Regions from separate parts of the Homo sapiens genome. Here all the other regions are linked to region 1. Evidence: promoter capture Hi-C in 16 types of primary human blood cells and fetal thymus (Javierre and others, 2016). All regions are on one chromosome and are shown on one strand. Each heading gives the region's core, a stretch centred on a gene start or on the middle of the fragment in contact. The rest is flanking DNA. Distances are from core to core; before and after follow the strand shown.

The links. Contacts are between HindIII fragments. The CHiCAGO score rates a contact against its expected background, and 5 or more counts as called.
Region 2: a contact is called between a fragment that was not itself captured here and the fragment with the promoter of HTATIP2 in region 1, in 1 of 17 cell types (non-activated CD4 T cells). The highest score is 6.5, in non-activated CD4 T cells.
Region 3: a contact is called between a fragment that was not itself captured here and the fragment with the promoter of HTATIP2 in region 1, in 2 of 17 cell types (non-activated CD4 T cells and naive CD4 T cells). The highest score is 10.2, in non-activated CD4 T cells.

What each region holds. Positions count from the first base shown.
Region 1 is chr11:20,361,937-20,366,535 of GRCh38, reverse strand. HTATIP2 (HIV-1 Tat interactive protein 2) reads right to left here and starts at 2,822. Exons shown (of 5, transcript NM_001098522.2): 1 at 2,104-2,822. The coding sequence starts at 2,298. RefSeq lists silencers at 2,473-2,615, 2,402-2,821. The HindIII fragment of the contact is 1,649 bases long and covers 2,274-3,922 here.
Region 2 is chr11:16,757,017-16,761,615 of GRCh38, reverse strand. It overlaps C11orf58 (chromosome 11 open reading frame 58), which reads right to left. Exons shown (of 5, transcript NM_014267.6): 5 at 3,276-4,599. Among named protein-coding and RNA genes, the nearest start is that of C11orf58, 21 kb to the right of the region's middle. The HindIII fragment of the contact is 2,020 bases long and covers 887-2,906 here.
Region 3 is chr11:17,077,557-17,082,155 of GRCh38, reverse strand. RPS13 (ribosomal protein S13) reads left to right here and starts at 4,489. Exons shown (of 6, transcript NM_001017.3): 1 at 4,489-4,537. The coding sequence starts at 4,515. RefSeq lists an enhancer at 4,256-4,455. The HindIII fragment of the contact is 676 bases long and covers 3,012-3,687 here.

The DNA of each region.
Region 1 (4,599 bases), core at 1,573-4,072:
CTTATCAGTTTGCTGTATAACTTAAAAAAGAAAGCATGATAAATTCCTATCATCCAAGAACTCCGATAAAATGTTGGTTTCCATCCTTACTGTCAACTCTGAAAAGAATTTTTCTGGCACTGCCTATGACACTAAAGAAAAATAGGGTTTCACTGTTAATCCCAGCACTTTGGGAGGCTGAGGTGGGTGGATCACGAGGTCAGGAGATCGAGACCATCCTGGCTAACATGGTGAAACCCCGTCTCTACTAAAAATGCAAAAAAAAAATTAGCCGGTTGTGGTGGTAGGCACCTGTAGTTGCAGCTACTCGGGAGGCTGAGGCAGGAGAATGGCGTGAACCCAGGAAGCGGAGCTTGCAGTGAGCTGAGATCGCACCACTGCACTCCAGACTGGGCGACAGAGTGAGACTCCATCTCAAAAAAAAAAAAAAAAAAAAGAAAAGAAAAGAAAAGAAAAAGAAAAATAGGGTTTCACAAAGTACCTAGTCAAACAGATGTGCCACCAAAACTCGACACTCAAAACACAGATTTCAATTTGTTTCTTTTCTTTTTTTTTTTTTTTTTTTGAGACAGAGTCTCGCTCTGTCACCCAGGCTGGAGTGCAGTGGCACAATTTCTGCTCACTGCAACCTCCATCTCCTGGGTTCAAGTGATTCTCGCACCTCCGCCTCCTGAGTAGCTGAGATTACAGGCGTGCACCACCACGCCCAGCTAATTTCTGTATTTTTAGTAGAGACAGGGTTTCACCATGTTGGCCAGGCTGGTCTGGAACTCTTGACCTCAAGAGATCCCCTGCCTCGGACTCCCAAAGCTCTGGGATTACAGGCATGAGCCACCACGCCCAGCCTTCAGTTTCAGCTTCTAATTACCATGAATATCTGACACAGCCCATGAAACCGGTGAGAACACATCTGCCTCAGCCTGAGGAAAGATGTCTGTTTTAAATAAACAAGACTTGATGGACCAAAGGCATTCACACCATGACCTGAACACAGACCTGCGAGAATCAAGAACATTTATTTGCAAGATGGCTTGTTATTTGAAATGTTCTTTCTATGAAACCTGTGGGGCCAAATTCTGTAGCTGTGGTGTCTTGAGATCACACTATGTTAATTTGTTGCAGTTCACAGATAATTCCCTTTAAATAAAGAACAGAATCTCCAAGAAACTCAGGCTTCTGATATTTAGGGGGTCATGACAAGACAGAAGTCTGGTATATCATTCCTATAATCATAAAAGTGTAACTTAGGCTGGGCGCGGTGGCTCACGCCTGTAATCGCAGCACTTTGGGAGGCTGAAGCGGGAGCATCATCTGAGGTCAAGAGTTCGAGACCAGCCTGGCCAACATGGTGAAACCTTGTCTCGTCTCTACTAAAAATACAAAAGTTAGCCAGGAGTGGTGACGCACGCCTGTAGTTCCAGTTACTCGGGAGGCTGAGGCAGAAGAATCGCTTGAACCTGAAAGGCAGAGGTTGCACTGAGCCGAGATCGTGCCACTGCACTCCAGCCTGGGGGACAGAGTGAGACTCCGTCTCAGAAAAAAAAAAAAAAAAACCTTTAACTTAGAGTGAAGGGAATATCCGATTTACAGACACAAGCCTGGGAAGTCAGGCAGGGCAAATTCTTGTAAGTGAATAATCCCACCTTTCACTGCCATAGACCTATCTCACTCTGCAAAGCAGTTTCAGAATCCCTGACAATATTAGTGTGAAGTGCGCAGGTTGACAAAATCAGCAAAGTGGCTGAGAAAATTCTCAAGGTCACCAGGGCTGCCTCTAGAATACAGCTTGTATGACCCTGAAAACAGTGCTCTTCTGTCTCACCAGCCCCCACCCCCATTACAACCCAGACCCAGCTTTATAGGGTTGCAGATGGAGAGAAGGGCTTTGCCCAAGACCACACAATGAGCGGGAGGGAGGCACACCTGGGCTACAATCCAGGAGTCAGACTTCTGGGAGGGACTCTCACAGACCAATCTTGGCCAAGTTTTGATGGCCTCTCACTACCCCCACCACTGGCAGGGCAGTATTCAGCCTTTAGGCATGAAATATGTTCACCTCGCAGAATCCTGGGGGTCCATTTGAGTCCCAGCTGAAATACCCACCACATTTTTATAAGCTTCCTCGTCGAAGGTGAGCTTCCTCCGGCCAATGAGCGTGACTTTGGAAAACAGGCCCTGCTCCAGGATTTCCTTTAAGAGCACTCTGCCGGTTTCTCCGCTGGCGCCCAAAATAAAGACGGATTTATTCTGCATCCTGAAGTCTTCCCGAAGCTTCGACAGGGCTTCTGTTTCGGCCATGCTGGGGAAATAACATCGACAGATGCCGGTCTTAGGGTGTCAGGGGACTGCCAGTCCTTATCCCGAGGAACAAGGGCTGTTTATCTGTTAGGGAGGAGGATATTGTTCTCCGCAGTCCGGGCTCTGGGGAAAGTGCTGAGTCACGTGCGGGGCGCGGCTCCCCGGCCATCGCCCGCACCTGAGCCAGCAGACCCATCGGAAGGGGCCCGAGCTGGAGGGTGCGCCCAGGTGCCACAAGCTGCTGGCATCACTGGGCATACCCCACGGTATCCCCGGCCCGGCCAGGAGACCTGGCCCAGCTCGGTCCCATACGCGGAGGGGTTACCTGGGGCCAGCCCCCGGCCCCGGGTCCTCACGACGCAGCAGGAGCAGGGCGGCCGCCAGAGCAGCCGCCGCCGCCGCGCTCAGCGCCGCAGGCCCGGCCATCAGAGCATCCCACCTTCCCTGGTCGGACCGGGGGGGTTGGAGGCGACGGAGACAGCGCCTACCCGGCTTGGTCTTCCGGGTGGCCTCGCGGCGACGCTGCCTCGCCCCGCCCACAGGGGCGGGACCTGGAGACGAACTCCTGGCACCCTCACAGGCGCGGGGAAGGTGACCCCGAGAGCACGTGCGCGGAGCCGCGACCCTTCCTAAGTTTGGAATCTGCAAGACCCTCTTCCCGCGTTTTCCCTCACCTGCTGGGCTCAGCTCACCCAGGCGCCAGCTAGTAGACTTGCCAGACTTGATCTTCAATGGTCCCCCCAGCTGGAATGTCAATTGTATATTGGCCATCATCTCAAATTCACCAAGTCAAAAACTTAACCCTGCCTACCCAACCACCCCAAACAGGAATAAAACAAACCTATTCCTAGCCTCTCTTGGGTGTCACTGTCCCTACATAAACATACACACACACACGCACACACACACACACCTCCTTCTACCCTGTCAAGTCAGAAATCAGGATTCCTTTGATTCCTTTCTTTTCTAGCCTTTCCACACTACAGACTTATCAAGTCCTGTTATCCCATCTGCCTTACAAATATTTCTCCCATGTAATTCAAGCTCGCATCATATCTCCCCAGAATAAATGGTCTACCTGCCCAGGTCCTGGCCTAATTCATCACCTAGATGGTTGAACCCGGGTGACCTTCCACACCTGTGATTCAGTCTTCCTAGCCCAGATCAGTGGTTTGGGACACAGGTATCTACACTGGGCCTGTCCTGGATCTTGGAAGTCCTGAACAGAGGTTAGAATGACAAGCAGAAATCTGAATAATTTCAGATTGTTCAGGTTTTGTTGGGAACATTGGTCATTTGGGGGCCCCACCTCCCATCTAGAAGCCAATGAAACACATTGCCTCTTCCATCTCCATGGGAGTTATTATATGTAGGCTTTGCCTAGGCTCAGCAAGCCAGAGGCTCACGCATAGGTTTTCAGTTTTGGAGGAGTAATGAAAAGATGCAGTGAAGGCCTGAGATATATGTGGGTTGGTTGGGGCAAGGGTATAGGATTATGGCATCATATGATCCACCAGCCATCTGATGGTCTGATCTTGTCTTAAATTCCTGCCTGTTTTCAGAGACTGTTGTGAATACAGTACTTCCTGTTATTCTTCTGATAAATTCCTGTGCTGTATAAGCTTACCAGATATATTCTGTTGTTTGCAATAAAAAAGCTTGATTAATATAGAGCAGTGTGGTTCATTCCCCACTGGCCTGTCACAGTGCCTGGACTCTTCCCTTTGAGTTCCTAAAGGTTTTCTACAAGAATGCAATGTTAAACCTTGTCAGCAAACACTGTCCTAGTAATTCATTTATCAAATCTGTCACAGAAATTATTCATTGTACCCTGTCTATTCTTCCCCTTTGTTTAAAATTGTGGCATAATTAATATACAATAAAATGTACAGAACCTAAAGGTTCTGTTCCATGATTTTAGGAGATTGTATATACACCTAAATAACCACCACCAAAAACAAGATATAGAGCATGTCTGCCATCCCTGAAAGTGCCTTCATTCCCTTCTTGCAATCTCTCCCCACTCCAGAGGTAATCACTTTCTGGTCACTATCAACATAGATTAGTTTTGCCTGTTGTAGAATTCTATTTAAGAGTACAGCATGTACTCTTTTGTGTCCCAGGTTTTTGGCTTAACACATATTTTAGTATTTATTCTTGTTTGTAGGCCTGCATTATGATTTCTATGGGCCCTAAGCACTTCATGAGCCCCTTCATTTTATGTACACACACTATATAATCAAAAATTATGTCTTATGACTATGTTGCTATAAAGATGAATATGACAAACTATTTATATAA
Region 2 (4,599 bases), core at 647-3,146, 3.6 Mb after region 1:
TAGTTCACTGCAGCCTCAAACTCCTGGGCTCAAGTGATCCTCCCACCTCAGCTTCCTGAATAGCTGGGACTGCAGGCATACACCATCACACCCAGCCAAGAGTTCATTCGTGACTCCTCTCTTACATAATACATTCAATCTTTAAGCAAATACTGTTGGCTCTACCTTCAAAATATATCCAGAATCTACTTCCCACCACTCCCATTACCACCCTAGTCCAAGCCCTTGGGCTCACCTAGAATATTGCCATAATCTAATTTTCACAGTTGGCTTCCCAAGTTTTTTTTTTTTAATTAGTGTGATATGATCTAATATTGCAGCTTAAGCAATATTAGATCATGTCACACTAATTAAAAAAATCTGCAAGTTCTTCTCATTCTCCTCAGAATAAAACTCAAAGTTCATATCATGGCTTTAATGATCTTAATTCCTGCTATCTCTTTGAACTCATAACCCTCTGCTGACCCTAGCTTATTTTCATTACATCTCTTAACCCTGTTTTAATATTTAGCACCATCTGACATATATATGAGATATATATGTAAATATATATATATATTTACGCATGGTGGCTCATACCTGTAATCCCAGCACTTTGGGGAGACTGAGGCGGATGGATCACGAGGTCAGGAGATCAAGACCATCCTGGCCAACATGGTGAAACCCTATCTCTACTAAAAGCCGAGATGGTGTATATATACATAATATATACATTATATATATATTATATATGTATTATATAACATATATATAATACATATATAATAGATGTTATATATAACACGTTATTATATATATTATATATATAACGTGTGTGTGTGTATGTGTGTGTATGTATATATATATGAAGTGTTTATTGTGTCTCCCCTCCACTAGAGTCTAAGCTTTATTAAAGCAGGGTCTGATTTTGTTTGCTGTTGTACTCCCAGTGCCTAAGACTGCCTGGCACATAGCAGGTGCTCAATAAATACTTGCAGTTGATCAGACAATTAAAAAAACAAAAGCTAGCAAAAGCTCTGTATAAGGATATAATAGAGAGAAAAATAAATGGCAGATGAAAAACACTCTCCAGAAAAATACTGCTTCAAATATTTGAAAATTATGATTAAATATTTTACAATGACTTTAATATCTTAATTAAAGATTCATCTCTACAAGAACATACATCAGAAATAGAAGATAAGGCCAGGCACAGTGGTTCATGCCTGTAATCTCAGCACTTTGGGAGGCCGAGGCAGGCAGATCACTTGAGGCCAGGAGTTTGAGACCAGCCTGGCCAACATGGAGAAACCCCATCTCTACTAGTAATACAAAAATTAGCCGGGTGTGGTGGCATGCGCCTGTAATCCCAGCCACTTGGGAGGCTGAAGCAGGAGAGTCACTTGCACCTGGGAGGCAGAGGTTGCAGTGACCCGAGATGGTGCCACTGCCCTCCAGCCTGAGTGACAAGAGTGAAACTGTGTCTCGAAAAGAAAAAAGGAAGATACAATGAAATGACAAAGAGTGAAATGTGAGCTGGCAGAACTCAGGAAATCAAAAATAACCGCAAAAATGAAAGTGGGAATGATGGGGTATACAGTGTTTGAATCATGATAAGGGAAATAAGGAAGAGGAATCATAAAGAAAAATAACATAGAGATAGGAAATGACACATGCACATAACTGGAGTTCCTAAAGTAGAAAACGTCCGTCCATTTTCTATTTTTATAGATGAAAGCACTGAGAAACTTTGCTCACATGATAAAAAGTCAATAATAGGTTTTAGGAATGTCAATCTTCTGAACTCTTAGGCCAAAAATCATAGTGATCTTGCATCAAAATTTATTTTTAATAAATTAGCTGACAATTCACTTGTCTGCTAGTTTCATTGAGGGCATCTGACAGATGACAGAAACCATCTGACTTGCAAAGGGAGTCATTCAGGCCTCAACATAAACATGAATGTTTCAAATTGTCCCTTTGTTTGGACCCATGAAATATTTTATTCCCTGGGACAATTAAACACAGTAGGTCTGGCATGGCTGAGAGGTATTGCCTTTCCTCTAGTGGGAGAAAGGCTGTGAAATAAGAGGTAGTTGTCTTAAGGCAGATCAATTTAGGAACAAATACATATGGATGTACAGGATTGGGAAATTATCTACCGAACCCCTTCATGTACTAAGCACGTACATCCTACTGGTTAACAATGCTAAGTACTGCTAACAGGTCAAGGGAAGAATTTACAAGTACTTATGTTTTAGGAAAATGTCAATAATTGATTTGATTAAAGTTTTCAGTGCTCTTGTGTCTAGGGTGGGTAGGAGCCACACTGGAGTGGATTGAGGAGGGAGGGGATGGAAGTAAGAAATAGAGGCAGTAATAGAAAAGTTACTAAAATTAGATATAGATGAGAGAATTACACCAAACATAGGTGGTACCTAGGAGCAACTTGCTTAAAAAGATATGAAATACTTGAACAAATGCCAAAAGAAAAGGGTCACAGATTAAGGGGGAGGTTGAAGACTCAAGGGAAGATAATAAGCACTACATTCACAAGGTTTAAAAGATTCAACAGTAGGCTGGGTGTGGTGGTTCACAACTGTAATCCCAACATTTTGGGAGGCTGAGGCAGGAGGATTGCTTGAGACCAGGAGTTCAAGACCAGCCTGGGCAACATAGCCAGTCTCTACAAATTAATTAAAAAATTAGCCAGGTGTGGTGGCACACACCTGTGGTCCCAGCTACTCAGGAGGCTGAGGTGGGAGGGGCTTGAGCCCGTTGAAGTTAAAGCTGCAGTGAGCCATGACCATGATCATGCTGCTGAACTCCAGCTTGGGTGACAGAGCAGGACCCCATCTCGGGGCGGCAGAGGGGGTGGTGGGAACCAGGAGCCAGCACTTACTGATCACTTATCTATGCACTAAGCTTTTTGTTCATTTTACCTAAGTCTCACAATAACTAACTATGCAAAGGGGGTTACTGTTACTATCCTCATTTTACTTACCCAGAAAGGAGACCCAGAGAGATCAACTTATGCTCAAGGTCACCGAGTTTAGCCCTGTGGTAGAGTTGGGATGTCACAACCTAGAGCACAGAATCTTGTCCATGGCTGTGGATTTAGTAAGTGAAGTTCAGGGAATTTGTGCCTGAAGGTCTCTATTTTTATGTAAGATAGAAGGCAAGGACATGTTAAGAGTGAAGGAAAAAAAGAGGGTAACAAGTTTCAGAGTATAAGTTTTACATAGTAAGAATGGAGAACCGACTAGAGAAAATAAGGGTAATGGGCAGTGCTGAGGTCAGTTAAAACCAATTTTTACTAATACGGATTTATACATTTGGTGATCTTTCTCCAGAAATAACTGGTGAGGGTAGGAGGGCTTGGATACATCTAGGGCTGGGAATTTTCCAGGAAGTCGTTTGGGTTAACAATCATGATACTGAATTGATAGATCAGGAAGCCTAGATAGGACTTACAGAGGTGGAAACAGACTACGCCCTAACACAGAGCAGGTATAAAGGAGGAGGAGTTGGTTAGAAGTGAATACTTTTATTGAGTGATTTTAGAAGTTGTTTTCGGATATTCCAAGTATTTAGGATGTGGCTGTGGTGGAAACAAGTAATGGAACCAAAGCCCTGTGTGTAAGTAGTCACTGAAGCTAACCAGGTAGCTGAAATTTATTTCCCCCAAATTTACTGAAAGAATGTGACCTTTGTGCTCTCAAACTGTGGTTCAGGCACTCCAGAATTTTTTTCTGTACCTTCAATTCTCTCAGATTTAAAAAATTATACTAGAGAAGAGGACTTTTGCCTATGAATACAAACAACATTGCAATCTGCATCTGCAAACATTCTTTTCAATAGACGGTTAGGTCATGGATACAAGTAAACACTTGGATATAAGGCAAACATTTAAAAGTGCATTTCAGGTATTAAGTCATGAATGATATGGAAAAGTTGCCACTAAACTTTCCACTGAATAGTGTTTCACAGCACAAAAATAATCTATTTTCCTGATACTTTTTTAGTATGGATACCAAGACAGCATGACATCAGTTGTCTAATTTTTTTCCAATTTGATTTAAAAAACCCACATGTTCAGGCTTAAAAGATAGCATTATGTTTAATGGGTGCTAGGAAACCAGGCCACATGGACCAACAGACCTAAATTTACTCTAACCCTGAATTTTGTTAGCACCCAATAAATGAATTAATTGAAATCTGGATTTCTCTATACGGAGATGAAGAAAGTCTTTTAGTGTAGTTATTTTAAAACAAGTTGCTCCTATTTCCTTATCAGAAACAAGACCATATCAACAACCCAACATTTAAATAATGAACTGAAAATACTTTTAAAAACCATAAAACTCATCTCTATCCCATTCTTAAGTAAAAATCAGTCTTCACTTTCTACTTAGTTATAAGCAATCCCACAGACATTTGAAAATCAGTGGGCAAACTAAAATTGTTGAATAAAGCCAAACTTTTTCAAACCAAGTATTTGTTAAATGTCATATGTATTGTCTACTATAAAGTGATTCAATATTTTACTATAGAGGATAGCATCTATTTTTCAAAAATGTGAGAAATTAAAAAAATAACAAGGCAACAACTTTGGGGTCT
Region 3 (4,599 bases), core at 2,100-4,599, 3.3 Mb after region 1:
GTACTGATACGTGCTACAACATGAATGAACCCTGAAAACATGCTCGGGAAGCTGGGGAGTGGCTCATGCCTATAATCCCAGCACTTTGGAAGGCTGAGGCTGGAGGGTTGCATCAGCCCAGGAGTTCAAGACCAGCCTGAGCAAAATCGTGAGAACCCCGTCCCTTTAAAAAAAAGTTGGGCACGGTGGCTTACACCTGTAATCCCAGCACTTTGGGAGGCCGAGGCAGATGGATCACCTGAGGTCAGGAGTTTGAGACCAGCCTGGCAAACATGACAAAACTCCATCTCTGGACATTTCATATAAATAGAATCATAAGGCCGGACGCGGTGGCTCATGCCTAGGCTGGAGTGCAGTGGCACCATCTCGGCTCACTGCAACCTCCACCTCCTGGGTTCAAGCGATTCTCTGCCTCAGCCTCCGGAGTAGCTGGGATTACAGGTGCCTGCCACCATACCTGGCTAATTTTTGTATTTTTAGTAGAGACGAGGTTTCACCATGTTGGCCAGGCTGGTCTTGAACTTCTGACCTCGTGATCCACCCGCCTCGGCCTCCCAAAATGCTGGGATTACAGGCATGAGCCACCGTGCCTGGCCTTATGATTCTATTTATATGAAATGTCCAGAATAGGCAAGTCCATGAGACAGCAGATTAGAGTGGGGAGAGGAGACTGGAGAGCCAACAGCTTAATAGTTACCGGGTTTCTTTTGGGGGTAATAACATATCAGGAATTAGTGGTAATGACTGCACAACATTGTGAGTGCAATAAAAGTTACTGAAGTAACTGTATACTTCAAAATGGTAAAAAAGTGAATTTCATGGTATGAATTTACCTCAGTAAAAAAATATTAAAAATTCAGTTTGTAAAGCTATTTGATCACTGAACTTCTGACCTTAATAAATGCATTAACAGTAACTATTTTCTAGATACTAAAATTATAACTTTCCCTTTGTCTAAAAAATTAGAAGTTTCCAATTTGCAAAAGCAGCTCTCACAAAAGCATGCCACATATAAAGGCAATGGAGCATGGCTTAATAGAAGGTAAACACCGTTTGATTAAAACTCAGCACTACATCGTATTTTATCATCATTACTGAATATACAAACATTACCAGATAAAATAACTATGGCAGGCCGGGTGCAGTGGCTCACACCTGTAATCCCAGCACTTTGGGAGGCTGAGGCGGGCGGATCACTTGAGATCAGGAGTTTGAGACCAGCCTGGCCAACATGGTGAAACCCCCATCTCTACTAAAATACAAAAATTGGCCGGGCGTGGTGGCGGGTGCCAGTAGTCCCAGCTACTCGGGAGGCTGAGGCAGGAGAATCTCTTGAACTCGGGAGGTGCAGGTTGCAGTGAGCCAAGATCAGGCCACTGCACTCCAGCCTGGGTGACAGAACGAGACTCTCTCAAAAAACAAAAACAAAAATCTTCATGTATAACTAACTGACAACCCAAATTACACACAGACATCCTGTAATCTGGGACTAGATTGCTAAATCTACTATTCCCATCATCTTCCTGAAATAAAGTCTACAATCTAGACATCTACAAAGGGGGAAAAATGACATTATTTAGGTTCATTCTTTCAAATAATTACTGAGTACCTAACTTCCCGCCAGGCACTCTTGTGGGTGTTGGAGATAAAGCAATAAACGTTGTACTCTCAGAGCTAATTTTTATTGGAGGTGGACAGGCAACCAAACAAGCAACTAGAAAGGATGTTAGAGATTTGGGTGCTTTGAAAGTAATCAATAGGATATTGTGTTGGGAAGAAGGACTACTTTAGATGATCCTATTTAGGGAAAGCCACCCTGAGATGACATGGAGGCCAGGATGTGAAAGTGAGACCTGAAAAGGTCTTGAGGAAGAGCAAGCACTTCAGGCAGTGCCAACAGCAAGAGGAAGGGCTCTAAGCAGGAAAGGAACACATTGCTACCTTGTAGAGTCAGAAAGGAGTAAGTGCGGTTAGAGCGTTTAGAATCGGGGGATAGTGGCAAGACGTGGGTCCAGGGATTGGATCTTAGGTGCATTGAGAAAGTATGGGAGGGATTTACACAGGGGAGCAATGAATTAATCTGCTTTATGTATTTAATGGATCACTCTGACTGCTAGGTGGAGAGTGGGTTGTGTTTAGAGTGGGGACGTGACCAGACGGTGTGGATACTACAGAGTTGCCCAGATAGGAGGTGATGGTGGCTGGGACTGAAGGTGGAAATGGGGCAAAGGGAACATATTCATGATACATTCTTGTGGTAGAGCTGGGATGACAGAGGGAAATCAGAGAAAAACGGAGATGCCTAGGTTTGTATTAAGTTTGAGCAAACAGGATCGTGTTTAACTGAAACAAAGGGGCATGGTTTGGGAATTGGAGTCATATTAAATTTGAGATACCTATTCCATATCTGAACTAAAAATGTAAAATTGGCTAATGATAAACTTTGCTAGAAAAAAACATTACCCAAATAGGGTACCCGATTTGACTAAAATTCCTAATGCTTTGGGAAAAGTTATTAATCAAATAGTGACAGATTATGGCTTTTTTGGGGGGGAGGGGTGTTGTTTTCTTGGAGAACTGACCCGTTTGTTGTTATAAAGGGTTCTCTCTTTATCCCTGATACTTTTTTTTTGAGACGGAGTCTCGCTCTGCCACCTAGGCTGGAGTGCAGTGGTGCGATCGTGGCTTACTGCAAGCTCCGCCTCCCGGGTTCACGCCATTCTCCTGCCTCAGCCTCCTGAGTAGCTGGGACTACAGGCGCCCGCCACCACGCCCGTCTAATTTTTTTGTATTTTTAGTAGAGACGGGGTTTCACCGTGTTAGCCAGGATGGTCTCGATCTCTTGATCTCGTGATCCGCCCGCCTCAGCCTCCCAAAGTGCTGGGATTACAGGCGTGAGCCACCGCGCCCGGCTATCCCTGATAACTTTATTTCAAATAGTGACAGGTTAAAAGTTAAGAGCGGATGTTTCAGTATCTAGTTTCCCAGCGTCTTGCCAGTTACTTTAAGCTTGTCGACAGGAGTTTGATTTCACTGACCTCCCTCCTTCCTAGAGCTATGCTTACTTTTTAAAATTTTAAGAAGCTGCTTCATTTGCCCATTCTTTCAACGCATTGTTGTGTACCGGCACTGAGTCAGTCTTTTTCTTTCTTTCCTTTTTTTTTTTTTTTTTTAAGACAGAGTCTTGCTCTGTTGCCCAGGCTGGCGCGCAGTGGTGCTATCTCGGCTCACCGCAATGTCCTTCCCGGCTCCAGAGATTCTCCACCTCAGCCTCCTTCGTAGCTGGAACCAAAGGCACGAGCGAGCACGCCCGGCTAATTCTTTGTATTTATAGAGAGGGGGTTTCGCCATGTTGCCCAGGCTAGGTCTGTCTTAAAAGAGCTTCTTCCGGCCAGGCGCGGTGGCTCACGCCTGTAATCCCAGCACTTTGGGAGGCCGAGGCGGGCGGATCACCTGAGGTCGGGAATTTAAGACCAGCCTGACCAACATGGAAAAACCCGTCTCTACTAAAAATACAAAATTAGCTGGAAGTGGTGGCGCATGCCTGTGATCCCAGCTATTCAGGAGGCTGAGGCAGGAGAATCGCTTGAAGCCGGGAGGCGGAGGGTGCGGCAAGCCGAGATCGCGCCATTGCACTCCAGCCTGCGAATCAAGAGCGAAACTCCGTCTCAAAAAAAAAAAAAAGCTTCTTCCTTGACGGTTCCCTTTTCCCATGAAATTCAAATGCTTCATTTTATCCCTCATCCTCTTGGCCTTTGCAGTCTTGCTCCCAAGGCTCTTCCCTGCCCGCCAACTCTCTCACTTGGGAACATAGCTCCGTAAGCCTCTGCCCAACCCTTCTCCCCGGCGAGCCCAGCGCCCCAGAGCCCTGCGCAGGGGAATTCGAGTGCGGAGGGCGGCAGGCATCCGTGGGGACCTGGTTCAACTCCTTAGACCGGTTCTTCACCGTCAGCGACTCTCCCCTGACAGATTAGGGTAGGATTTAGAAATGAGAAATGGAAGCGCTGGCTGGGCGGTAGCCGCTGCCATGGCTTCCCGTGTGGTCCTCATCACATGCTATTGTATCTGTTAATTTATTAGGCGCAGGGCCGACTCTGAGGGATCTAGTGCCAGGACAAAGCCAGGCACTGGTGAATGAGCAAACACCTGTGTATGGCTGCTTCTTCCAGCCCTACCTGCTCCATACCCACCCCCAGCGCAGCATTCGAATCTTTGTGATCTCGGCGTCCACAGGGAATTTCGACGCAAGCTGGCGTCAGCCTCAAATTCCCGCTCTGGCAACAAGGCTGACCAAAGACCGATGCATGCCGGGATGAGGCTGGATTGACGATCTCTTGCGACGCTGAAATGCATTTCGGGAGATGTAGTCACACAGACGGGCGGTGGCTGCGCAGCGTAGCTCCGCCTCCTGCGTGAGAGGAAGCGGGGACGTGTGAGGTCACTTCCTGCGTGTTGGGTGGCTTCCTGCGGCGTTTCCACTCTCGCTCTCCTTTCGTTGCCTGATCGCCGCCATCATGGGTCGCATGCATGCTCCCGGGTGAGCTCGGGGCATCAAGCCGGATTGCTGGGCGGGGGGTGGGAGGAAGACAGGGAGTGTGG